Regions from separate parts of the Homo sapiens genome. Here regions 1, 2, 3, 4, 5 and 6 are each linked to region 7. The links are contacts of gene promoters, found by promoter capture Hi-C in blood cells and fetal thymus (Javierre and others, 2016). All regions are on one chromosome and are shown on one strand. The core of a region is centred on a gene start or on the middle of the fragment in contact, and the rest is flanking DNA. Distances in the headings are between cores, read along the strand shown. Region 1 overlaps MYO1D (myosin ID). Region 2 has its middle 10 kb from the start of TMEM98. Region 3 has its middle 29 kb from the start of TMEM98. Region 4 overlaps TMEM98 (transmembrane protein 98). Region 5 holds the start of H2BN1 (H2B.N variant histone 1). Region 6 overlaps MYO1D (myosin ID). Region 7 holds the start of CDK5R1 (cyclin dependent kinase 5 regulatory subunit 1).

Region 1 (3,139 bases), core at 609-3,108, 370 kb after region 7:
CTAAAAATACAAAAAATTAGCTGGGCGTGGTGGCGGGCACCTGTAGTCCCAGCTACTCAGGAGGCTGAGGCAGGGGAATGGCGTGAACCCAGGAGGTGGAGCTTGCAGTGAGCCGAGATCGCACCACTGCACTCCAGCCTGGACGACAGAGCAAGACTCCACCTCAAAAAAAAAAAAAAAAAATAGACTCCTTTAACCCTATCAGACTGGTCTTCTCACCGTCCCTGAACATGTCACAACCATTCACAGAGGCACCCCTGCATGGAATGCTCTCCCTTGCCATTCTTACTTCATGCATACCTAAGTCTTATTCACATTCCAGCATTCAGCCCAATCCCTTAATCAATAAAGGCCTTCCTTAACCACCAAAGCTCAGACTCCTCAGAAATTTTCTCCACATGTGAACTGTAGAATATTGCTACTAATCATCAGGCATTTATTATATGCTACTTTCGGGGGTTACATATCTTTTCATTCCATTTATCTCCAATTATATCATTATTCTTGGAACGAATTATATGTAGTCCTCAGTATACACAGTTTCTAGCAAAAAGCTTTAAGTAATACCTGTTGATTGGTAATGTTAATTGTTAATTTGTAATAACTGAGAGCATAACATCATTTAATATTTTCAACTGTTCCTTTAAAATATGCATTTAGACAACTGGAATCCTAGAATGTATGACTTTAGAGGCCACATAGACCAATATTCCAGATGCACAACATCTCTTTACAAGAACCTAATGAGTGAACCTTTAACTCCAGTTTCAATAAGTTCACATGACCAGAAACTCATTACCTTCTTTGGGAACCATTTGATGTCTAAGTAGCAGTTCCAAAATACAACTATCAATATCAGGAGATTAACATATGATATATTGCTAAGATTTAATTCTTGAACCCTATTCAAATTCTACCAAATGCCCCAATAAATGTCCCTTATAGCAAAAGTATACAGTTCAGCATCATGCTTCACCTTTAGTTGTTATGTCTTGTTATTCTCGTTGCTTCTAGAATACTTCCTCAGTCTTTCTTGGAATTTAACATTTTTGAAGGTTACAGGCTAGTTATTTTAAAGACTGGCCTTCAATCTGAGCTTGCTAGGTGTTTCCTCTGATTAGATTCAGGTTATGCATCTTTAGCAGGAATGTCACAGAGGAAGTAATGCTGTGTTTTTCTCATTGCACCTGATCACATGGTACATGATTCTGATTTGTCCCATTTCTGACATTGTTCATTTTGATCACTTCATTAAGGTAGCATCTGTCAGGCTTCTCCACTGTAACAATAATCTTTTTTTCTTTGGTATTAATTAATTGAACATTTTGTAGGGAGATACTAAGTAAATATCCCATTCCTCATCAAACTTCAAAAGTTATTTATTAGTTTATGTAAGTATGGACTCATGGTTTCCGATTTCATTTTGATGATTAAACTGACCCAGATTTAGCTAGTGGGTACTCACTTAAGCTGCTTTCTGAATCTGTTTTACATTTTTCATCATTCTTTGAGGATTTCCTTGCTTTCTGAAAATACAAGATGCCCCCGGCTCACCTTGTATTAATATTTACTTTGTGACAACCCTGGAATTACCCATTTCTCCACAAAGCCCTGATTTCTTTCAGTGGAGGATGGTACTAGGTGTGACCATTGCTATTATATTAAGGTATCACTGCTCCCAGGTCCTCACAATGGACAGAGATGGGGAATACATAATGTATGGATATAGGTGCATACGCATTCACATCTATATTTACTCCTCTGTCTAGCTGTATATTGAAAACTTCTGATTCCAATCTAACTACAAAGGGTTGACTGTACTTTTCCCCTTTCCATATTTGGAGCTCTCTTTTATGACCATGAGAAACCTGACTCCATTATCCTCAACATATTTACTTGTTTGTCAATCTCCCTGTTTATCACTTATCTCCCACTGCTGTCACCAAGACCATGCCAGCACGGATGCTCTTTTTCCATACTCAGGTCCTCATGCATTGGCCCCCTCTTTACTCAACTTGGCTCCAAACTCTAATCTGGGCCCCTGTGGCTCCCCTTCCCCTGGGATGGATGCCTACCTTGCTGTGCCCCAACCCAATGGCTTTAGGACCAAATTCTTCAGGAGGAAGAGAAGAAGAGGAAGAAAAGGAGCAGAAAGATAAATCTACATCTCTTCACTTTTACCCACTGGCATGAATTCTGTCTTTTGGGGTCTCCCAGAATAAACATAATCAATTCATACGCAAGTATTTGAGGTTGGTGTTCATGTCCTGTCTTGTTCCTTCAGTCATTCCTTAAATGACATGGTTTCAAGTACCCTCAACATATTGAGCATTCTTTTCTGAATAAATCCTATTCTGTCTACATAGCTTGTAAAACTGTGTAGAGGAGGCACTTTTGGTTGCCTATCCAATATCCTATTCTGCCCCTAAAATTCCTTCTTTCCTAAAAAAGCCTGACTTTGTTCAGGTATCCACTCCCTTCCATACAGCCACATGCTGCAGGAAATGAGAAATCTATCATCAGCGCCTGACTATTCCATCATGATAACCACATTCCTCTTACCAGTGGCAGGTTTAATAATGGGCATGTGACCAAATGCTAACTAATGTGACATGTAAGGAAGTCTTCTGGGGGGCTTCCTAAGCAAGGAGCACAACACAAGCAGAGAGCTCACTCTCCTTCCTCAGGACATTACTGTGCCTGGGTGAGATGCACAGAACTGTTGCAACGACCTTCCACCAGCTGAGGATGAAACCAGCACAAGAAGGGCAAAACCAAGGGAATCACAGACAAGTGGAGGCAGAGTCCTTAGGGACTGGCCAGAACCTCTCTTATCATTAGCCTTCTTGTTGTGTGAGATAACATGTTTCTTTTCTGTTTAAGCCAGTTTGGTCTGGTTTTCTTTTTAGCTGCCCCCAACAGCATTCTGACTGATATAGAGTGAAGCTAGCAACCACACACCCCTCCAGGAGAGGTGTGATAAGCTAGGGAACTTCCAAGTCCCTGTATTTCCTCTGACATAGCCCAAGTCAATGGTGACACATAACATAGACTACTAAGACCTCCATCTTTCTCACACCTACAACAATGTTATTTTGTATTTGTATTGTTAAATTGTTGCCCTTCAATAGAGAACTAG
Region 2 (3,096 bases), core at 137-2,636, 430 kb after region 7:
ATGCATACTGTCAGCTCCAGGCAGTCGCTGAGCTGTTTATTCACTTGTTTATATGTTTGCTTGTTTTTTGGTAAGTGTATGTCTTTTCTATGTGTGCTTCAACCTCCTCAAGATTAAAGCTTTCTTTTACATCTCTTGTACAGAGTCACAGAACCCCAGACCTGGAAGAGGCCACAAGAGATCATGTGGTTTTAGCTTCTTACCTCAAGGCCACCAAATGTTTAACCACCCAACACAAATAGAAATAGTTCGTCTCAGAGACTCTCCAAGAAATGGACACATTTAATGTCCCCAGTCACCCATTCCAACGCTGGCTGCTTTGCTTTGAGCCTATTTTCCTTACACAGATTGTAATGCTTGTAGCTTCTTCATGAAAGCACTTCAGAGGATTATAAAATCATCCCTCAGCCTTCTTTTCCCTGAGAGCCAATGGTGGGAAAACCCAGCTACCTACAGGTCCAGGCTCTTACCAAAAGGGTGAGCTGTGAGTGTGTGCACATATGTTGTAGGGGCAATGGGGTAGTGCTGGGTCTGGAAAGCAAGCCTCGGACAACACCTGCCCTCTCCTGCTGACTGTTGCTACTGGTGGAATGTAGGCTGTGTTTTTGAGAGATCTTATTAATTTTTCAGGGAAGCTGGAAATCTAGAATTATAAGTGAGAGTCCTGATTTTTTAAAATGTTGGCAACTAATCTGATTTTTAAAAACCATGAACCGGGCCAGGCGTGGTGGCTCACACCTGTAATCCCAGCACTTTGGGAGGCCAAGGCAGGAAGATCACTCGGGGCCAGGTATTCGAGACCAGCCTGGCCAACATGGTGAAAACCCATTTCTACTAAAAATACAAAAAATTAGCCAGGCATGGTGGTGCATGCTTATAATCCTAGCTACTCGAGTGGCCGAGGCATGAACTCAGGAGGCAGAGGTTGCAGTGAGCCTGAGGCAGGAGAATAGGGTCTGGAGGCAGGGAACCCAAGGCTGATTCACCCTGAATTCCTAGAACTAAATCAAAAGGAAAACCCCAACTTTCAACACCTAAGCAACAAAAGGACCAGAGGCTACTCCCTTTGCAAACCACCCTGCCTTTCTGCTTGGCAGATAGAAAATTGAAAGTACCTCTGATAGATTGCTTTCCAAAACCAATCAGACATTTGCATAGGAGGGTAACTTTGTAACTTCACTTCAGCCTCTGATTGTGGAAAGCAACCAATTAGACTGATTGCAGGCCACCACTTCATTTGCATGGGGTGAATACCAAGTGCCCAATAGGAAACCTCTAGAGGGTGTTTGGACCCCAGAAAATTCTGTAATGGGGGCTCTGGAGCCCCTATGCTTGGGCCCGCTCCCACCCTGTGGTGTGTGCTTTCATTTTCAATAAATCTCTGCTTTTGTTGCTTCATTCTTTCCTTGCTTAGTGCATTTTGTCTAATTCTTTGTTCAAAATGCCAAGAACCTGGAGACCCTCCACCGGTAACATATTTTGGTGAGCCAGCCAAAAGGTAAGCCCAAAGTTTGGGGTTTATTTTTCTCCTTTCTGCTCCATACAGGGTAATCTCTCTGTCTCTCTCCCTCTCTCTCTCTCTCTCTCTCTCTCTCTTTTTTTTCCTTTGCAACTCGGGTCCCTTGGTGAGCAGTGCCTAAGCATGGAGGCAACTCTAGGTCTCTGGCTGTGGCAGGTGAACTGAAAGGGTTTTCCATGTGGAGGCACCTAACTGCCACCGCCTGGTTTGCTTAAGGGACCTGGGTATTTTTCCTTTCTTTCTTTTTCAGTCTTTCAGTGGCTGTTTCCTAGCAGCTCCTTGGTAATTGAGGGCAACTGGCTGGGACCACTCTCCAGTGTTGCCTGAAGGCAAAGGAGTGAATGGGGATAACTGCCCTGCCCAGAAGCAGGAAGGACTCTTCTGTCTTTTCTGGTTGTGGTCCCTGATCGCTACATGTGGCACAGCTTGGGGCGAACTCACAAGTGTTTCAGGCGACTTAAACCTTTTCTTATGCTAAATTCTTCCCTTCTCCTACTCGACTGGCTAAGGGCAAAAGAAACCCACTCAGCCTCCAGTTCCTGTCATTAAAGTTCATGGCTATCTCTAGTGGAATGAAGAGCATGGGAAATTGTGGCCTTAACAAATTATAAGAGTGCTGTAAGTCCAGGCCTTCATCCAAGGATAAAAGGAAAGCTCATAGTAGGCCATGACCTCTGGAGGGAAAACATGCAAAGTGGCACTGGTGCCCATCTAAGGTCAGAGACATCTGACACTCTAAGATTGGACCCCAAAGGGGGACACTCTGGGGGATCCTCTGGACCACAACCTCTCCAAAGAGAACGCCCTCGGCAGAGGTTCTTAGGCCTAGTACTAAGCCCTCGTTAGAATTTTCTCTTGCAGTTGCGATACTGTTTGGCCCCAATATTGTTTGGAATCTGGAGTTTGCTGTTGAATGGGAAAGTAGGATGGAGTTGCATGTATCCAGGCTTTAGTGCTGCTGTCCTAAGCAGGGTTGGGTCTGGTTAATATGTGATGCTCTCCTTTGGTGCTGTTTGGCCCCAGTGTTCTTTGGAATCTGGGGCGGTCTGGCCTTTAAAAATCAAACTGCTTTACCTGAAATTTTGGTTCACGGCCTTCATTGGATTACCTATTGGGGCAAACAAAGTAAAACTGGCAAGCTTGTATTGCTATCTCATGGCTAGGATTCCAAGGTAAAAGGTATTGGATCTTCATTTATTTGTGTGTAGTGTGTATACATGTCTAGATGTGTTTATTTGTATGTATGCTTATTGTTATATGTTGTGTCTACCAAACTGGCTTGTAAGTAAAAGAGCCCTCATAAATTAAATAAATAAGTTTAAGCAATGTTCAAGTTCATGTGACTTAAGTATAACTTTACTAAACAAGCTGCTTTTAAAATTATTGGTAAAATAAAAATAGAAATGCCTTCAGAACTGTCAGCATACACTTTTGTCTGGATTTTATATTTGTCTCTGCTAGATATTTTGAGGTGTCCAGGTTTGGCATAGAAAGTTATAAAACTATAAACCCAGCCAAAACAAAGTGATCTTGGTTTGCGTGCCCTTTTTATTGACAAACATGAGTAATTTAATGTT
Region 3 (3,097 bases), core at 6-2,505, 470 kb after region 7:
ACAAGGCACAAAAAGGCTAAGTAATTTATCCAAGGTGACACTGTTAGTAAATGGCAGACCTGGGATTGTATCCCAGTCTATTTCAAGATATTGAAGTTGGCAGCATGGTGTGGTGAAAGAGCCTGGATTGGGTTCAAATCTTGGTCACACCATTTAAAGCTGCATGAACTTGGGAGGTGGCTTAGCCATCTTGAACCTCAATTTTCTCATATCTGAAAGGGAATAATATGGTCGGGTGTGGTGGCTCATGCCTGTAATCCCAGCGCTTTGGGAGGCTGAGGCAGGAGGAACTTGAGGCCAGGAGTTAGAGACCGGCCTGGGCAACATAGCAAGAACCCATCTCTAAAAAATAAATAAATAGATAAATTAGTTGGGCATGGTGGCGTGTACCTGTAGTCCTAGATACTCAGGGAGCTGAGGCAGGGAGGATGGCTTGAGCCTGGAAGTTCTAGGCTTCAGTGAGCTCTGATTGTGCCAATGCACTCCAACCTGGGTGACAGAGTGAGACCCTGTCTCTAAAAAAAAAAAGGGAATAATACATCAAACATCATATAATTGTTTGTGAGGTTTAAAAAAGATAAATAATGACATTATTGAACATTTGAAAATAAGTAATACGTATTGGTTCTCTTCCGACTTTGAATCAATCAATTATATTAAGCATAAAGCTTTAGCATAGAATATTATAGGATAGAATGAGATGTCAGATCCGGAAAGGATCTTAGCAATGACCTAATCCAATGCATTGTCTGAAGCGTGAGGAATTATTGACACTTGCCCAAGGCCAGTCACATAGTAACTCAGTAACTGTGACAAAGATTGTGAGTTGCCTTTTCTAATATCTTGTCTCCCTTCTTAGCAATAGCATCCCTGGTTTTTAGCTGGGTTCATGGTGTCTTGGAAAAAGGCTACATTTCCTAGCTTTCCTTGGAGCTAAGTGTGGCCATTTGACTATGTCTGGCCAATGAGATGTCAGTGAAAAAGTCAAAGGATACTTTCTGGAAGTCTCCTTCAAAAGGGAGAATGCTGGTTCTTTTCCCTTTCTTCCATCTTTTTGCTTAGAAGGCAGATCTGGTAACTGAAGCTCTTGTCATCTTGAACAGGAGTATGTCATAGCCTAGGGATGACAGTGCCTTCACACTACCATGAGTTATTTACCTCTAGATTTATTTCATATGAGACAGAAGTAAACTTCTGTCATGTTTAAGCCACTGTTGGTTGGGTTTCCTGTTACTTGCAGTCTAATCTAATCCTAACAGACAGCATTAGATACGGACTAGAAACAAGGTCAATAAATGTTTATTGAGTTGAGGAGAGGTCCCCCAGAGAAGCCTGGCCTGTCTTTTTCCATCTCTGCAGGTATTTAGGAGAGAAGCTGGGGTTTTCACAACAAAACATCTTGAAGCCCTAAAATGACTTGTCATGCCTTGTGAGTGGGGGTGGGCTTATCTCTGGAAACCAGGGCTGTGGCTGGAGGAAGGTGCCCAGGTATGGGTGGTCTGGCACTGTCGGTCTTCTCTCTCAGCCACAGAGGGACAAACCTGTGGACAGAGCTATCCTTTGGTTCCAAATGTGGGTCTCTGCACACGGTCCGTCCCCTAAGCTCTCAGCTGGTGGGCTGAAGAAGCCTGAGGAAGCCAGGATCTGTGAGATGGCCCGATTACCTTGCCTGTTATTCACTTTGTTACTGGCATGTTTTGAAATTGATGATTTCTTTTCTTTCCTCAAAAAACTTGTTCCTCCCTTTGCTTTGCTTTTTTTTAAATTAATTTTTCTGTCATGAAATATTTCAAAGATAGACAAGAATAGAAAAGAGCATAATGAATACCTATTTACCCACGATTAAGCTTTATCAAATCTTAACATTATGTCATATTTGCATCAGATCTCATTTAAAGAAATAAAATATTACTGATATAATTGAAGATCTCCGCATATTCCACTCCTACCCCTGTTCCTCTCCCTCCTCAGAGGTAACTATTACCATGAATCCAGTGTTTATCATTCCTATGTATGTTTTTACACTTTTATTACATATTTATGTATTCATTAATACAATATAGCATTACTCAGTAGGGTTTTAAATTTTATATATAAATTGTAGCAGATTCCACTTATCATTGAATATTCCATTATATAAATATGCCACAATGTATTTCTCCATTTTCCTGTTGATGAATATTTATGCTGTTTCCTTTTTTTTTCTTTTTTATAACCCACACTATGCTGTGATGAATTCCTCCACTTACCTCCTCCTGGGGAACAGTGAGAGGGTTTGTTTAAGGCAAGTGTCAGCAAACTATAGCTTACAGGTCATACCTGGCTACCACTTGTTTTTTGTATGCAGCTATGAATTAAGAATGGTTTTTACATTTTTCCTTTTTCTGAATTTGAATTTTAACTTTAAAAATTGTGGTAAAATGGGGCCTGGCATGGTGGCTCATGCCTGCAATCCCAGCACTTTGGGAGACCAAGGTGGGCAGATCACCTGAGGTCAAGAGTTTGAGATCAGCTTGGCCAACATGGCGAAACCCCATCTCTACTAAAAATATAAAAATTAGCTGGGTGTGGTGGCACATGCCTGTTATCCCAGCTACTCGGGAGGCTGAGGCAGGAAAATCACTTGAACCCAGGAGGCAGAGGTTGCAGTGAGCCAAGATCGCACCACTGCACTCCAGCCTGGGCGACAGAGGTCTCACACACACAAAAAAATAAATAAATAAAAATAAATTAAAAATTATGGTAAAATATGCATAACAGAAGATTTACCATATTCACCATTTTTCAGTATATAGTTCAGTGGCATTAAGTACATTCACGTCATTGGGTGACCATCACCACCATCCATCTCCAGAATGTTTTCATCATCCCAAACTGAAACTCCGTGGTCATTAATAACTCCCCTTTCCCGCTTCCCCTAGCCCTGACAGACACCATTCTACTTTCTGTCTCTGTGTACTTGACTACTGTAGGTCCTTTATGTCGGTGGAATCATGCCATATTCATCCTTTTGTGACTGGCTTATTTCACTTAGCATCATGTCTCCAAGGTTCATGCATGTTGAGGCATGTGTCAGAATTTCATTTTTAAGGCTGAA
Region 4 (3,177 bases), core at 463-2,962, 450 kb after region 7:
CTGCCCTGCAGAGCCCGTGGCCGCCCCTCTTACCCAGCCACATACCAGCTCCCCTTGACACGCCTTCCTCCCAGGCCAACATGTCACACAGATGCCCACACCCCTGTCTCTGCCTGAATCTGTGTTGGAGACTAGCTTGGGGGACCCACTCTGGCTGTGCCCACTGCTCCATCCCTGGCCCAGGCCAGCAGCCTCCAGCACTGGGTGGGAGCTGAAGCCATATGGCATTCAACCTCCCAGATTCCAGGCTAACTGCGAAATCCCGTGTGGGAGGCAACCAGCAGGATTGCAGTCAACAGCTACACCCCCTCATTTGGGCTTGATATCGTGAGGAAAAATAAAGCCCTTTTCTTAGAGCCAAGGGCTGTACTAAGTTTGTGCTGCCACCTGGTGGCTGGTATGCCGACGTGCCTGAGCAGAGGGTCGGGGCCAGGATGTTTTCCACGTCAGCCACCTGGCCCCTCCGCCCACCCGGGAGGGCACCTCTGTATGCCTGCTGAAACAATGGCACTGCTGTGAGTTCCAGGGGCCCACACGTTCCTTGTTGCCATGGCCCCAGGTAAATCACGAGGAACCAGCCCTTTCTCTGCCTCAAGATTAACCAAATAAAAACGACCAGTTTCCTGAGTTGCCACGTGAGTTCCTCTGAGGGAATACACGACCTGGTCAGCTTGAACTCAGTCCAGGCAGTTCAGTGAGTTGAGAGAGTGGGAGGGAGATAATCCAGGGAGGGACTCAGCTGAGAACAGTTCCCTGCCTTCTCTGGAATTGCCTCCAGTGGGCTGTAGCCACATGGTCAGCCCCTGGCTTTATAAGAACCCACATCCCAGGCTCTGGGTGGGCACTGGGCATTCCTTCCCCATTATTTTATTTATTTATTTATTTTTGAGATGGAATCTTGCTCTGTCACCCAGGCTGGAGTGCGGTGGTGCGATCTTGGCTCACTACAACCCCCACCTACCGGGTTCAAGCGATTCTCCTGCCTCAGCCCCCTGAGTAGCTGTGATTACAGGTGCCTGCTACCATGTCTGGCTAATTTTTGTATTTTTAGTAGAGATGGGGTTTCACCATGTTGGCCAGGCTGATCTCAAACTCCTGACCTCAGGTGATCCTCCTGCCTCAGCCTCCCACAGTGCTGGGATTATAGGTGTGAGCCACCACACCCGGCCTCCTTCCCCATTAGTTTTAAAGATTCTGCACTATGGTATTCACTAGACCCTTTGTCATGCTTTTTGTGCCTTCTAAGAGCCACTTAGAGGCCAGGCAGATTCCTGTGATACAGGTTACAAGGCAGCACTTTCAGGAGGTTGAGGTTTCTGTGTGAGCCTGGGTGAGTAGGATCAGCACGGGTCCTAAGATGAGGGTGTGGCATTGTCCAGAGAGTGGACCTGTTCTGGTGCTCACAGGCCCATCCTAAAGAGTACCTTGGACTACTTCTAGAATGCTCCGTGCCATAATTCAGCCAGGGTCCTGCTTTGTCCTTTTGCCCTCACACTTCTTTCTCCTTCTGGCCATGTTTTGTCCCCATTGTTTTTCCTGCTCCATTTATCCCACACAGTGTGTTGATGGCCTGTGAGTCTCGAGGAGGTGGCTTCAGCTCCAGGGCACTAGAGAAAGGAGCTGGCTGAGATAGGCGCGGAGGGTGACTGTGTCTCTGCATGTCCTCACCGGCTCCACAGCCGTGAATAAGAGTGTTTGAGGCCATCTTTTTTTCAAGTGCTTTTAGAAATCAAACAATACATCTTTATTTTTTCTTCCTATCGAGTGTTCATGAGCAAAGATTTGGAGCAAAACCTTGTGCCACGCAAATCAGAATGAATTGTAGTTCTGAACTTGATTTAAAAAAATTAACCACAGGGTAGAAGAAATCCAGTAGAGCAGTGTGAAGCCAAATGAAACTCATGGCCTTCTTTTTCGGTGTCTTACATACCTTTAGCTTTGTATTTTTTTTTCCTGAATACAAGAGTAATTAATGCTTATAAAAATGTGAAATACTGCAGACATACATGACCTGGAAAGTCTACTCCCTCCCAATTGTAGGAAAAAACCACTATTAAGTGGTGAGTGTTCCTCCAGATCCTTCCCAACCCCACATTTCAGAGCTTTTGTTTATCTATTTTTATGCAAATGACAGATTGAGCTTTACATATTATTTGGCAATTTGCCTTTTTAATATAGTAGTAATCTTGAACATCATTCCATATGTATGACTGTATTTTAAAAAACCATTGGAACTGAAACAAAACTAGAAAACAAAGTAGTCTCTGCAAAGACTGAACCTGAAGTCTTTGTGCCTAAGTGTCTGTCTGAGAATGCAGAAGCAATTGGAGAAAGAACCATTAAAGACCAGGTCTGGAATACCAAAAAAGAAGAACTGGAATAAAGATAGAAAGGAAGGAAGGGGCCAGGCGTGTGGCTCACGTGCCTGTAATCCCAGCACTATGGAAGGCTGAGGTGGGTGGATCACCTGAGGTCAGGAGTTCAAGGCTAGCCTGGCCAACATGGTGAAACCCCGTCTCTACTAAAAATACAAAAATTAGCTGGGCATGGTGGCGCGTGCCTGTAATCCCAGCTACTTGGGAAGCTGAGGCAGGAGAATCACTTGAGCCTGGGAGGTGGATGTTGCAGTGAGCTGAGATAGCACCACTGCACTCCAGCCTGGGTGACAGAGCGAGACTCTGTCTCAGGAAAAAAAAAAAAAGGAGAAAAGGAGATCAGGAAAGTGAAGTACTGAACACCTTTTGCCTCCGGTCAGGGTGGATGATGTTGTGAAGTCGATGTACCCTCCGTTGGACCCCAAACTCCTGGACGCACGGTGAGACCAGGGGTGGGTGCATGTTCGGTTTTTCATGCAGAGGTCCACAACCGTTTTATCAGATCTGTGAGGCTGGCTGACTGGCTTGTGTAGGGAGGGTGGCTTTGCAGCCTCCTTAGGCTGCCCGGGCCATGCGTGCCATTTACTTCAGTGAGCGGCGCCTGACTGGGTGATAGAGGCCAGTCCTCTCCTGAAACCCAGGAGAAGAAAGAGGCAGTCTTAGATTTTAAATTGTTATGATTAGACTTCCGGCCATGTTACATCCTAACTGTGCCTTCCCTTCTACCTTTTCCCCTTTCCCCCTCTGATTTTTGTACCCCAGAAGCAGACATGCCTTAGCTGTGAGTGCCACCCAGTTGGGC
Region 5 (3,346 bases), core at 799-3,298, 410 kb after region 7:
GTGCACATGTACCCTAAAACTTAAAGTATAAAAAAAGAAAAAAACAAAAAAACAAAAAAAAAAACTTCTGATTCACTCTGTGTTAAAGTGTGACTTGAATTTGTTTAAAATAATGAGAAAAAACAAAAACAAACAAAAAACAACAAAAACAAAACAAAACAAAAAACCTTCTGATTCACTCTATCATACATGCTCTGTGTATAAATGGCATTTTATTTTATTTTATTTTATTTTATTTTATTTTATTTTATTTATTTTGTTTTGAGACAGAGTCTTACTCTGTTGCCCAGGCTGGAGTGCAGTGGTGTAATCCCGGCTCACTGCAACCTCCACCTCCCAGGTTCAAGCGATTCTCCTGCCTCAGCCTCCCGAGTAGCTGGGATTACAGGTGCCCACCACCACACCCGACTAATTTTTGTATTTTTAGTAGAGACGGGGTTTCACCATGTTGGCCAGGCTGATATTGAACTCCTGACCTCAAGTGATCCGCCCGCCTTGGCCTCCCAAAGTGTTGGGATTACAGGCGTGAGCCACCACACCCAGCCATATATGGCATTTTAAAATAGAGAGTTTAAAGATGAGACTGGTGACTTGAGAGTAAGAGTTGGGGGTGGGGTGGGGGCATGGTTTTGACAACCAGGCAACAAGCAACTACCTTTTCCTTTCATACTTGTTCCTTTCCAGTACACAGAGGTATTCTGTTTAGTTTTTGTTGTCGTTGTTGTTAACTCAGGCACTATTCAGATTTTTTTTTCAGGGTTTTAAATTCAGGACTTTGCAGAGTATCAAAGAAATAATTCAGAAGAATTCAACCTACACTATAAATAAGTTACATTTGAAATTCTCCAGCAATGAATTGATACATGTAGCAATTATGTAGAGCACATGTGTAACTACAAACATTGTGGGGCTCTGGTGTTCAGTTTTGGAAGGAGAGAGAATGCGAGTTAGAAAGCAAAGGCTCCAAGGCTGGCTTTGCCACTCAGACACTGTATATGACCCTGTGCAAGTCACTTAAGCCCTCTGAACCTCAGTGTCCTTCTCTGTTAAGTGGAGTAATGCTAATATCTTACCTCATAGCGTTGCTCTGATAATTAAATGGGATAAAGAATGTTAGTGTGGCATCTGGGACATAGTTAGGGCTCCTAAGTTGACGGCACTGTTATTATCTGCCAGTCCCTTGCACCAAGGCTTTGAAGCAACTTATAACCAGTAGTAGGGGAAAGAGTGTCTGTTCTGATCTGGTTCTTCTCTCCTTTGACACCCTGGTTCTCTGGTGTCCTCTTATCTGTTCGTTCGTGTCAGGCTGGTCAATTCCTTGTAGCTGAACTGATACACTAATTGCAGGAAGTTCATGGGCTATCTACAATTTCTCAAAGTTGAGTCTTGTAGATACAGTCACTTCCTGGCATTTTTGTTCATGCTGTCACCCAAGTTCCTAATTGCTGTTGCATAACCAGGTATGTGCTTGCCTTTCAGAGGATGCGTTTTTCTCCTGATGCAAATACAAATACAAGGCATAAGTGCAATGTCTGTGAATAGATGCCTCCTCCACTCCAACCCAAATCTTGTGTAGTTGTTTCAGGAAGCTTTCATAGATCAATAAATTCCATATCTGGTTGGTCATTAGATTTACCTGGCCTGCTTTAGAAACATCTATCTTCCAGGTTTCACTCCCAGTCTTTTGAATATAAATCTTAGTGGCTAAGAATCATGTAATAAAAACACCTTGAGTTAGGTACAATAAAAGAATAACTTCTGAAATGACTGTTGCCTGGTAAATTAATGGCCATTGCATCAAAGTAGCCTCTCTCGTTTAGAGTCTACACCTAATCTTTTTTTTTTTTTTTTTTTTGAAACAGAGTCTTACTCTGTCACCCAGAATGGAGTGCAGGAGTGCAGTGGCATGATCACGGCTCACTGCAGCCTCCATCTCCTGGGCTCAGGTGATCCTCCCACCTCAGCCTCCCAAGTAGCTGGGACCACAGGCATGTACCACCATGCCCGACAATTTTTTTTTTTTTTTGGTAGAGACAGGGTTTCACCATGTTGCCCAGGCTGGTCTCAAACTCCTGGGGTGAAGTGATCCTCCCACCTCGGCCTCCCAAAGTGCTGGGATTACAAGTGTGAGCCACTGTGCCGGCCTACACCTAATATCTATTAAGGATTCTGAGCACCTTCATCTTCTGCAGGTGTGATCACTAATTTAATTAGGAAAGCATACTTCAGCGCTCCCTATAAAACCTTTTTGGAGCACACACTGACCTACAGCCAGTGCTCTGAGCTAGGGGCCTAAAGATTGAGCTTTCAACATGTATTTCATTTGCTTAAATGACCTAAGATTCCCTAAGAACAAGACTGAGCTTTATTTCCCAGTCAAAAAGAAGCATGAGTGGGCCAACTCAGCCACTGGGAAGAAGAGGAGGTGGAGAAAGAAGAGGAGGAAGGAAGCCTATTTTAGTTACATGGGGAAAATCCTAAAGCAAGTGAGTTGGTGCACTCTTTGTAGAAGCTTAGAATGGCCAAGAGAGGTATCATGTTAGCGGCCCTGGGTATCATCTTGACTTCAACTTACTGTGATACAGGAGTCCTTCACACATAGTGTTCCTGAAAAGTTATGTGCCAACAGCTTTTCTAAATTGGATCTGCTAATGGCTGCTGTCTTCTCTCGCTTCGTTTTCTTTCTGTTGGCAGCAGCTCTGAACACCTGAGCTCTTAATGAATGTCTCTCTCGCTCTCGTATCTGTTGACAGGCAATCTGTAAATCTGTAAACTGATTCTTTTTCCTTTTTTTTGAGATGGGGTCTTGCTCTGTCACCCAGACTATAGTGCATTGTTGCAATCATAGCTCACTGCAGCCTCCATCTCCTGGGCTCAAATGATTCTTCCACCTCAACCTCCCAAGTAGATGAGACTATAAGCCCACGCCACCATGCCTAGCTAATTTGCTTGTCTGTTTTAGTGGGTTTTTATTTTTTTTAGATAGGGTCTCACTACGTTTCCCAGGCTGGTCTTGAACTCCTGGGCTCAAGCAATCCTCCTATGTTGGCCTCCCAAAGTGTTGGAATTATAGACATGAGCCACTGCGCCTGGCCTAAACTGATTCTTAAACGCCCTCTCCTTTTCTTGTAAAGCGGATATTTGCCACCTAGTCTGTTTTGTAACTTTGAAGAGTGGCATAGATCAGTTTTCGTCAAATGATGCTCTGTATTTCTAATATTACTTAGGAGGGGTAGGCACCCTGGTTCCTTCCTCCTGCCCACCCAACTTCACCCCGTGGCATAAGAAATTGGTAGAAAACAATCAGGAAAATCTTCCCCCTCAAAAGCTGGGAAGATTCAAAAGA
Region 6 (3,320 bases), core at 213-2,712, 310 kb after region 7:
GCTCTATGATCACGTGGAAGCTGTTTAACCTCCCTGTGCCTCACTTTCTTCAACTGATATAGTACCTTTCCCTCAGAGGATTGTTACAAGAAGTGAGATACTCTGCATAAAGTGCTCAGCACACTAATTAGTACATGGTAACAGCACAATAATACCAAGTCGTATTTTTATTATGAGCAATAGCAGAAGTCATAAGAATGGCAGGAAATATCTTTCTTCCACTTGAGACCCATTGTTCAGCATGCGGCATCAGTGCTATGTTTCTGTTTAACATCACAGTGAGGGTTACTTCTGCTAGCACAGCGAACGGTGATCCAGCTTGGCTTCATGTTTATAAAGCATTCTTCTAGCAGTTCATGGGGACCCTCTAAGGCCAAATGCCTTCAGTAAAATTGCTTAGGCTTACCACAGGACATAAGAACTAGTTAGGACCACAGGTGGTGGATTAAATGACTGACGTTGTGACTTCATTTCTTGGCTTTCTTCTTCTGGTGCAATATTTCTTCATTTGAGCTGCACAAATGGTAGTTAACCAGAAGATGTGGTCAGGAGATGCCTAGATGAATTATCTTACCTTTCCTCTGCAATGGAAAACAACTGTTTTTGATATATACGTTTTTAGGTGATGCTTGCTTTTTCAAAACACAATTCTTTTATTTATTATGGCATGCCTAATTTTAAATGTTATTGATGTATTTAATTGTATTTGTATCCAGTTGTTTATTCAATCAATCATTAGTTATTAGCACTCATGTTCCAAGCATTGTGCTGGGAGCCACAAGCAGAAGAATAAACAGCAGACTCATCTCCACCCTAATGCAGGCAATGATAAGGACAGACACTAAATGGAGGTCCAGGGAGAGCCAATAGAATGCACTGTACTGGTGGAGGGAAGCAGCAGTGTTTGAGGAATCCAGAGCAGGGCATGTGACTATACCACAGCAGAGAGAGCATAGGGAGAGAGGTGTGGGAGGAGGGCCAGAGCGCGCAAGGCCTTAGGGCTTGTGGACTTTATCCAAGGGTGGAGCTTTAAGTATTGATCACATTTGCTTTTTTGAAAGCTTCCCTTTGGCTGCAGGGTGTAAGGAATTGAGTGCCTGCTAATGGACCAATTAGGAAGCACTACGCTGGTCTCAGGAAGGAATGACGGGTTCTCTGGTTGGGATGGAGCAGTAGAGAGACAGAGAAGTAGACAGGCTTTAAGAGTAGAGATATAATCTATTGGAGACGGTAACTTACTGGGTATGAGAGGCAAGAAAGAAGGAAGTGTCAGGGTAAGTATCTCACATGAGCTACTGAGCAGACCGTGATGCTCCATTAATGAGGATAGGGACAGGAGGCAACTGTGATTCAGACAGACTATGCAATCTGTTTGAGACACCTGAGAGACATCCAAGTGAAGATGTTTCTCACACTTCTTTCTCTCATAGAATTAAACCCGATCCCCTGAACACAAAGTGAACAACACCAAGGATGGCAAACACAGATCATCAGCAGTGGAGAGAGCAAGCAGATAACCACACCATCACGGCCAGCAAACACGGCAAGGAGAACACATACTTCATTGCCCCATTTAAAAGTGGAAAAATATTTTAAAGAGACAGGAGATATCTGGGTTCTATTTAAATTTTTTTTTTTTTTTACTAACTGAATTCATCATACCAAGTTCCTCAGTGATTCAACCTTCCTGGTATAATAGAAACAAACACAATAGCTTCCTCCCATAAAACGTTAACTACTAAGGTCTCATGCAATTCAGTTTTTTAAAAAATACAATAAAGAAGCTATACAATGTCAGCACATGAATAAATCACCATAGCATTATTTAGCTATGAAGTGCTTGTAAGATTCTCCCCGGGGCCTGAAAGCTTAAGGAGATGAATAACTCCTCTCTTCTCAGGCCCAGTTCCAAGGTGCAACTTGGGGCAGCAACTTGCGCCAGCAAGACAGCAGAAGGAGGAAGAGAGTCCGCCTGAAGACAAGTACTCCTAAAGACTGAGAAAGAGGCCATCCGGGTACAACATAGCAGTTACGTCAGACTACGACACTTCCTGTTTACAGGAGACTATAAAACCTTTGCCCCGTCCTCACTTGGTGCTGAGGCCATTTTAGGCCTCAGCCCGCCTGCACCCAGGTGCTCATTAAAACAGCATGTTGCTTCACACCACCTCATGTTGTCTGTTAGCGCGCTCTCGGGGTTCGAACCGATACAAGACCCTTAACGGTGCTGAGTGTCCAATAATGACAGGCATGAAGATTTAAACCAAAACATGAGAATGAAAATTACCTATTAATAATATGACACTGATTTTCTCTTTCAACCAACAATAAACATAATTTATCCAACATAGGGCTCAATATTTATATATTTATTCCTTTTCATCCATTCCATTTAGAAATGATTTCCCATTATGGTAACATTTGGCTACTTGGCATACCTAGGGAAGTAGTTAGCTGCATTTTACCTTAACTGGGGAGTTAGCTTATTTATAAATCAACACTGCTCAGGAAAATGAAGGATACCTGGACCTGATGTAGAAAACTCTTTAGTAGGCATTGACAATTATATGAATTGATAACAATTATGCATTTTAAATAATATTAAAAACCATGTGAATTACAGTATTAAACATACTTTTTTTTTTGAGACTGTCTCACAGTGTTGTCTGGACTGCAGAGCAGTGGCATGATCGCAGCCTCACTACAACCTCCACCTCACAAGCTTAAGTGATCCTCCCACCTCAGCTTCCTGAGTAGCTGGGACTACAGGCGCGGGCCACCACATCCAGCTAATTTTTGTATTTCTTGTAGAGACGGGGTTTTTGCCATGTTGCCCAAGCTGTTCTCGAACTCCTAAGCTCAAGCAATCTGCTGGCCTCAGCCTTCCAAAGTGTTGGGATTACAGGTGTGAGCCACCATGCCCAGCCAAACATCCTTTTAAAAAACAAGTAAATCCCACAGATGGCTGAGGACTTTAACTAAATAGAATAAACTTAAGATTCTCATCCCTTCCCACTCTCAAATTTATACTGGTAGGAAGCCTCTCTACCTTACATGGTACTGAGGTATTTCACTCCATGGGACGGGTCTCTGGACGACAGGAAACCTAAACAGTATATCCTGTCACTTTTAAATAACTATGCCTAATTCAGAAAATGACATAAAACTTAGTACACTGCATCACTTTTGTTGTTTTTTTTTTTGAGATGGAGTGTCGTTCTATCACCAGGCTAGAGTACAGTGGTGCGATCTCAGCTCACTTCAACCTCTGCCTCCCAGGTTCAAGCGATTCCCCTGCCTCAGCCTCCCAAGTAGCTGGG
Region 7 (3,331 bases), core at 196-2,695:
GTATGCCTTGCCCCCCAAGGTTCCTAAAGCCTGGAATTCCTATTGACAGAAATCTGAGTGGCACATAAACAAAACCCAGCACTTTCTGCCTTGATTGCACCATTTTGAATGATGCCAGATTCCCTTTCTGTTCCCCCTAGGACAGTTGACAGGGCTGGTGAAAGCCTAGTCGGCTGGAGTGGTCAGGTAACTGGGTGGCATCCTCTCCTCTGGAGAGCCACTCCCTCATCTCTAGGTCCAGAGATAATCTGGATTAAGACAGGGCTTAAGTTTCCTGTTTCCCAGGTTTGTGGTCAGTTTTGACTCGATCTCCAGAAACAAGGTAAAATAGTAAATGAACAACAGCCTTTGTGAAGGATCTGGATTCACATCTGACAGGAACAGCTTTCAGAAACAGAATTTTACTCAATTTCGCTAGCATCAAGTTCTCAAATTATACATACTTAGAATTGAAAACGTTTAAGAGGGTCAGAAAGCTGGCCGGAGGGGCAGTTGCTTCAGCTTTAATATGACAAATAAGAGGGCGAGTGGGAACTTAGAGGTCATATTTGTGACGGGCTCAGGCTTGGCTACGGGCCACGCTTCTCTGGCTTGGATCTCTGAGGCCCACTTCGGCCGCGGTCATCTACCCATGATGAGGGAACGGAGGCCCCGGAGGGGTGGCCAGAACCGATTGGACTGTCCACTCGAGGTGCGCGTGGCACTCGGGAGGCCTCAGTAAAGGCGTCGCCTCTCCCCGCCCAGGGCCTTCTTCCCCGCGCTCCCTGGCTGCTTTCCACAGGGACGGGGATGTCAGGTGGAAGGAGGGAGCTCCGGACCCTGGCCTCGGCGGAGGGCTCCTCACCAGGCCAGGGCGGCAGCCTCAGAGAGGGCGGGCCGCGCGCTGCCAGGGCAGGGACTCGGCCGAGAGTGCCCCCGCGGCCGGCAGCTGCGGGCGCCGCGGCGGGAACAAAGGCAGCACGTGTCTGGGCGGGACGCGGGCGGGGTCGGCCCTCGGCTCCGCCCTGCTCGGCGCCCGCCCCGCGTCGGCAGAGTTGGGTTGCGCGGGCGCCGAGGACTCTCCGGCGGCCGGGCTGCTGTTGGGCGGCGGCGCGGAGCGGGCGGCGAGCTGTGCGGGAGGGGCGGCCCCGAGGGGCGGGGCGGGCCGACGCCGCGTGTCCCGCCGCAGCCGCGGAGTCCGGCTCCTAGATGGGGCCCGGCGCGTAGAGGTGCCTCCCGCTCGTTGCCGCGTCCTACCCGCACCGTGCGCGGCTCGAGCTGAGGACACCAACGGCCGCGACTCCCCGGCGAGACCAGGCCGGAGCGTGGACGGCGCGCGCGCCCCGCGAGGGAGGGCGCTGAGGCGCGCGCCGGAAGCGGGAGCGGGAGCGGGAGCGCGGCGGCGGCGGCGAAGGTGCGGGCGGCCGAGCGGGGGGCGGGGCTGCGGTGCCTGCAGAACCTTGGACAGAAGCTCCCTAGCTGCCGCCGCCGCCGCCGCCGCCGTCGCCGCCGCCGAGCGCGAGCCCAGCCGATCCCCGCCGAGCGCCCCCGAGCGCCGCCGAGCGCCGGGACCGCGGCGGCGGGGCCGCGGCGCGCATTGCGGAGGGCGCGGAGCGCAGGAGCTGCCGCCTGCCGGGTAAGCCTGCGCTGGGCGGCCGTCCTTGGCCCTGGGGAGCGGAGACCGGGGTCGCGCCCGTGCGGGGTGTCCAGGCGGGGGTCCTCGGCCGCCTCCGTCGGCGACCGGGCCCCTCCCGGCTGCGCCTGGGGACCGCAGCGGCGGCGGCGGGCGGGGGTGCTGCAGTGGAGGCGGCGAGGCTGCGTCGCGGGGGCGCGGGTAGGGCCCGGGACTGGGGCGGCGGGGTGCGCCGAGGCGCGGGGCGGAGGGGCGCAGGGGCGCAGGGGCGCGGCGCGGAGCCCAGCCTGGCGCTAAGAACCATCTTGTTTTCCAGGCAGATCCAAGGGGGCAGCACGCTTCCCGGGAGCGCCCCCGCCTCCTCTCCGGGGCCGCCGCAGGCTCGGTGAGCGGTTTTATCCCTCCGGCCGGCAGGCTGGGCGCGCAGGGGCGCGAGCCCCCGCCCGGCGCGCAGCAGCACCATGGGCACGGTGCTGTCCCTGTCTCCCAGCTACCGGAAGGCCACGCTGTTTGAGGATGGCGCGGCCACCGTGGGCCACTATACGGCCGTACAGAACAGCAAGAACGCCAAGGACAAGAACCTGAAGCGCCACTCCATCATCTCCGTGCTGCCTTGGAAGAGAATCGTGGCCGTGTCGGCCAAGAAGAAGAACTCCAAGAAGGTGCAGCCCAACAGCAGCTACCAGAACAACATCACGCACCTCAACAATGAGAACCTGAAGAAGTCGCTGTCGTGCGCCAACCTGTCCACATTCGCCCAGCCCCCACCGGCCCAGCCGCCTGCACCCCCGGCCAGCCAGCTCTCGGGTTCCCAGACCGGGGGCTCCTCCTCAGTCAAGAAAGCCCCTCACCCTGCCGTCACCTCCGCAGGGACGCCCAAACGGGTCATCGTCCAGGCGTCCACCAGTGAGCTGCTTCGCTGCCTGGGTGAGTTTCTCTGCCGCCGGTGCTACCGCCTGAAGCACCTGTCCCCCACGGACCCCGTGCTCTGGCTGCGCAGCGTGGACCGCTCGCTGCTTCTGCAGGGCTGGCAGGACCAGGGCTTCATCACGCCGGCCAACGTGGTCTTCCTCTACATGCTCTGCAGGGATGTTATCTCCTCCGAGGTGGGCTCGGATCACGAGCTCCAGGCCGTCCTGCTGACATGCCTGTACCTCTCCTACTCCTACATGGGCAACGAGATCTCCTACCCGCTCAAGCCCTTCCTGGTGGAGAGCTGCAAGGAGGCCTTTTGGGACCGTTGCCTCTCTGTCATCAACCTCATGAGCTCAAAGATGCTGCAGATAAATGCCGACCCACACTACTTCACACAGGTCTTCTCCGACCTGAAGAACGAGAGCGGCCAGGAGGACAAGAAGCGGCTCCTCCTAGGCCTGGATCGGTGAGCACTGTAGCCTGCGTCATGGCTCAAGGATTCAATGCATTTTTAAGAATTTATTATTAAATCAGTTTTGTGTACAGTATGTGTCTAGCAAAGCCACCAAGGGCCTCACCTTTCCCACAGTCTCTCCCTGGGGTTTTTTTCATCCCTGCCAAGAACTCTGGGCACTTTTGAACTCACGAGCCTTGCGCAAAACCCAGAAGATGTATTCAGAGCCACCCAGGCCACTGACCTCCCACTTTGGGGAACTCAAAGGACTGACCTGCCCCTGCCGCCTGTGCCCTTGCTGGGTCCAGGGTAGGCAAGGCTGCCGGCTGCACCCTGTATGGAGCTAGAGA

What was found. The method cuts DNA at HindIII sites, captures the fragments that hold promoters and counts their contacts. A CHiCAGO score of 5 or more calls a contact.
Region 1: a fragment that was not itself captured here is called in contact with the fragment with the promoter of CDK5R1 in region 7 in 4 of 17 cell types (naive CD4 T cells, naive B cells, naive CD8 T cells and 1 more); the score reaches 6.2 in naive CD4 T cells.
Region 2: a fragment that was not itself captured here is called in contact with the fragment with the promoter of CDK5R1 in region 7 in 3 of 17 cell types (naive B cells, endothelial precursors and M1 macrophages); the score reaches 6.7 in naive B cells.
Region 3: a fragment that was not itself captured here is called in contact with the fragment with the promoter of CDK5R1 in region 7 in 1 of 17 cell types (megakaryocytes); the score reaches 5.1 in megakaryocytes.
Region 4: a fragment that was not itself captured here is called in contact with the fragment with the promoter of CDK5R1 in region 7 in 2 of 17 cell types (M1 macrophages and endothelial precursors); the score reaches 6.7 in M1 macrophages.
Region 5: a fragment that was not itself captured here is called in contact with the fragment with the promoter of CDK5R1 in region 7 in 6 of 17 cell types (endothelial precursors, megakaryocytes, naive CD8 T cells and 3 more); the score reaches 8.4 in endothelial precursors.
Region 6: a fragment that was not itself captured here is called in contact with the fragment with the promoter of CDK5R1 in region 7 in 1 of 17 cell types (total CD4 T cells); the score reaches 5.0 in total CD4 T cells.

What each region holds. Positions count from the first base shown.
Region 1 is chr17:32,857,420-32,860,558 of GRCh38, forward strand. All of the region lies in intron 1 of MYO1D (myosin ID), which reads right to left. Among named protein-coding and RNA genes, the nearest start is that of MYO1D-DT, 18 kb to the right of the region's middle. The HindIII fragment of the contact is 2,612 bases long and covers 553-3,139 here.
Region 2 is chr17:32,916,161-32,919,256 of GRCh38, forward strand. No RefSeq gene overlaps it. Among named protein-coding and RNA genes, the nearest start is that of TMEM98, 10 kb to the right of the region's middle. RefSeq lists an enhancer at 1,686-2,317. The HindIII fragment of the contact is 2,539 bases long and covers 118-2,656 here.
Region 3 is chr17:32,955,309-32,958,405 of GRCh38, forward strand. No RefSeq gene overlaps it. Among named protein-coding and RNA genes, the nearest start is that of TMEM98, 29 kb to the left of the region's middle. The HindIII fragment of the contact is 1,179 bases long and covers 667-1,845 here.
Region 4 is chr17:32,936,722-32,939,898 of GRCh38, forward strand. TMEM98 (transmembrane protein 98) reads left to right here. Exons shown (of 8, transcript NM_015544.3): 7 at 2,756-2,815. Among named protein-coding and RNA genes, the nearest start is that of TMEM98, 10 kb to the left of the region's middle. RefSeq lists enhancers at 1-359, 270-564. The HindIII fragment of the contact is 4,161 bases long and covers 1-3,177 here.
Region 5 is chr17:32,893,121-32,896,466 of GRCh38, forward strand. H2BN1 (H2B.N variant histone 1) reads left to right here and starts at 2,313. Exons shown (of 2, transcript NM_001401340.1): 1 at 2,313-2,486. The coding sequence starts at 2,313. The region is part of intron 3 of MYO1D-DT (MYO1D divergent transcript); the gene reads left to right. RefSeq lists cis regulatory regions at 718-1,792, 1,284-1,345. The HindIII fragment of the contact is 923 bases long and covers 1,588-2,510 here.
Region 6 is chr17:32,793,787-32,797,106 of GRCh38, forward strand. The region is part of intron 1 of MYO1D (myosin ID); the gene reads right to left. Among named protein-coding and RNA genes, the nearest start is that of MYO1D-DT, 81 kb to the right of the region's middle. The HindIII fragment of the contact is 807 bases long and covers 1,060-1,866 here.
Region 7 is chr17:32,485,548-32,488,878 of GRCh38, forward strand. CDK5R1 (cyclin dependent kinase 5 regulatory subunit 1) reads left to right here and starts at 1,446. Exons shown (of 2, transcript NM_003885.3): 1 at 1,446-1,615; 2 at 1,929-3,331. The coding sequence starts at 2,074. The coding sequence ends at 2,997. RefSeq lists enhancers at 232-733, 1,973-2,532 and silencers at 806-1,335, 1,446-1,705, 1,796-2,085. The HindIII fragment of the contact is 10,728 bases long and covers 1-3,331 here.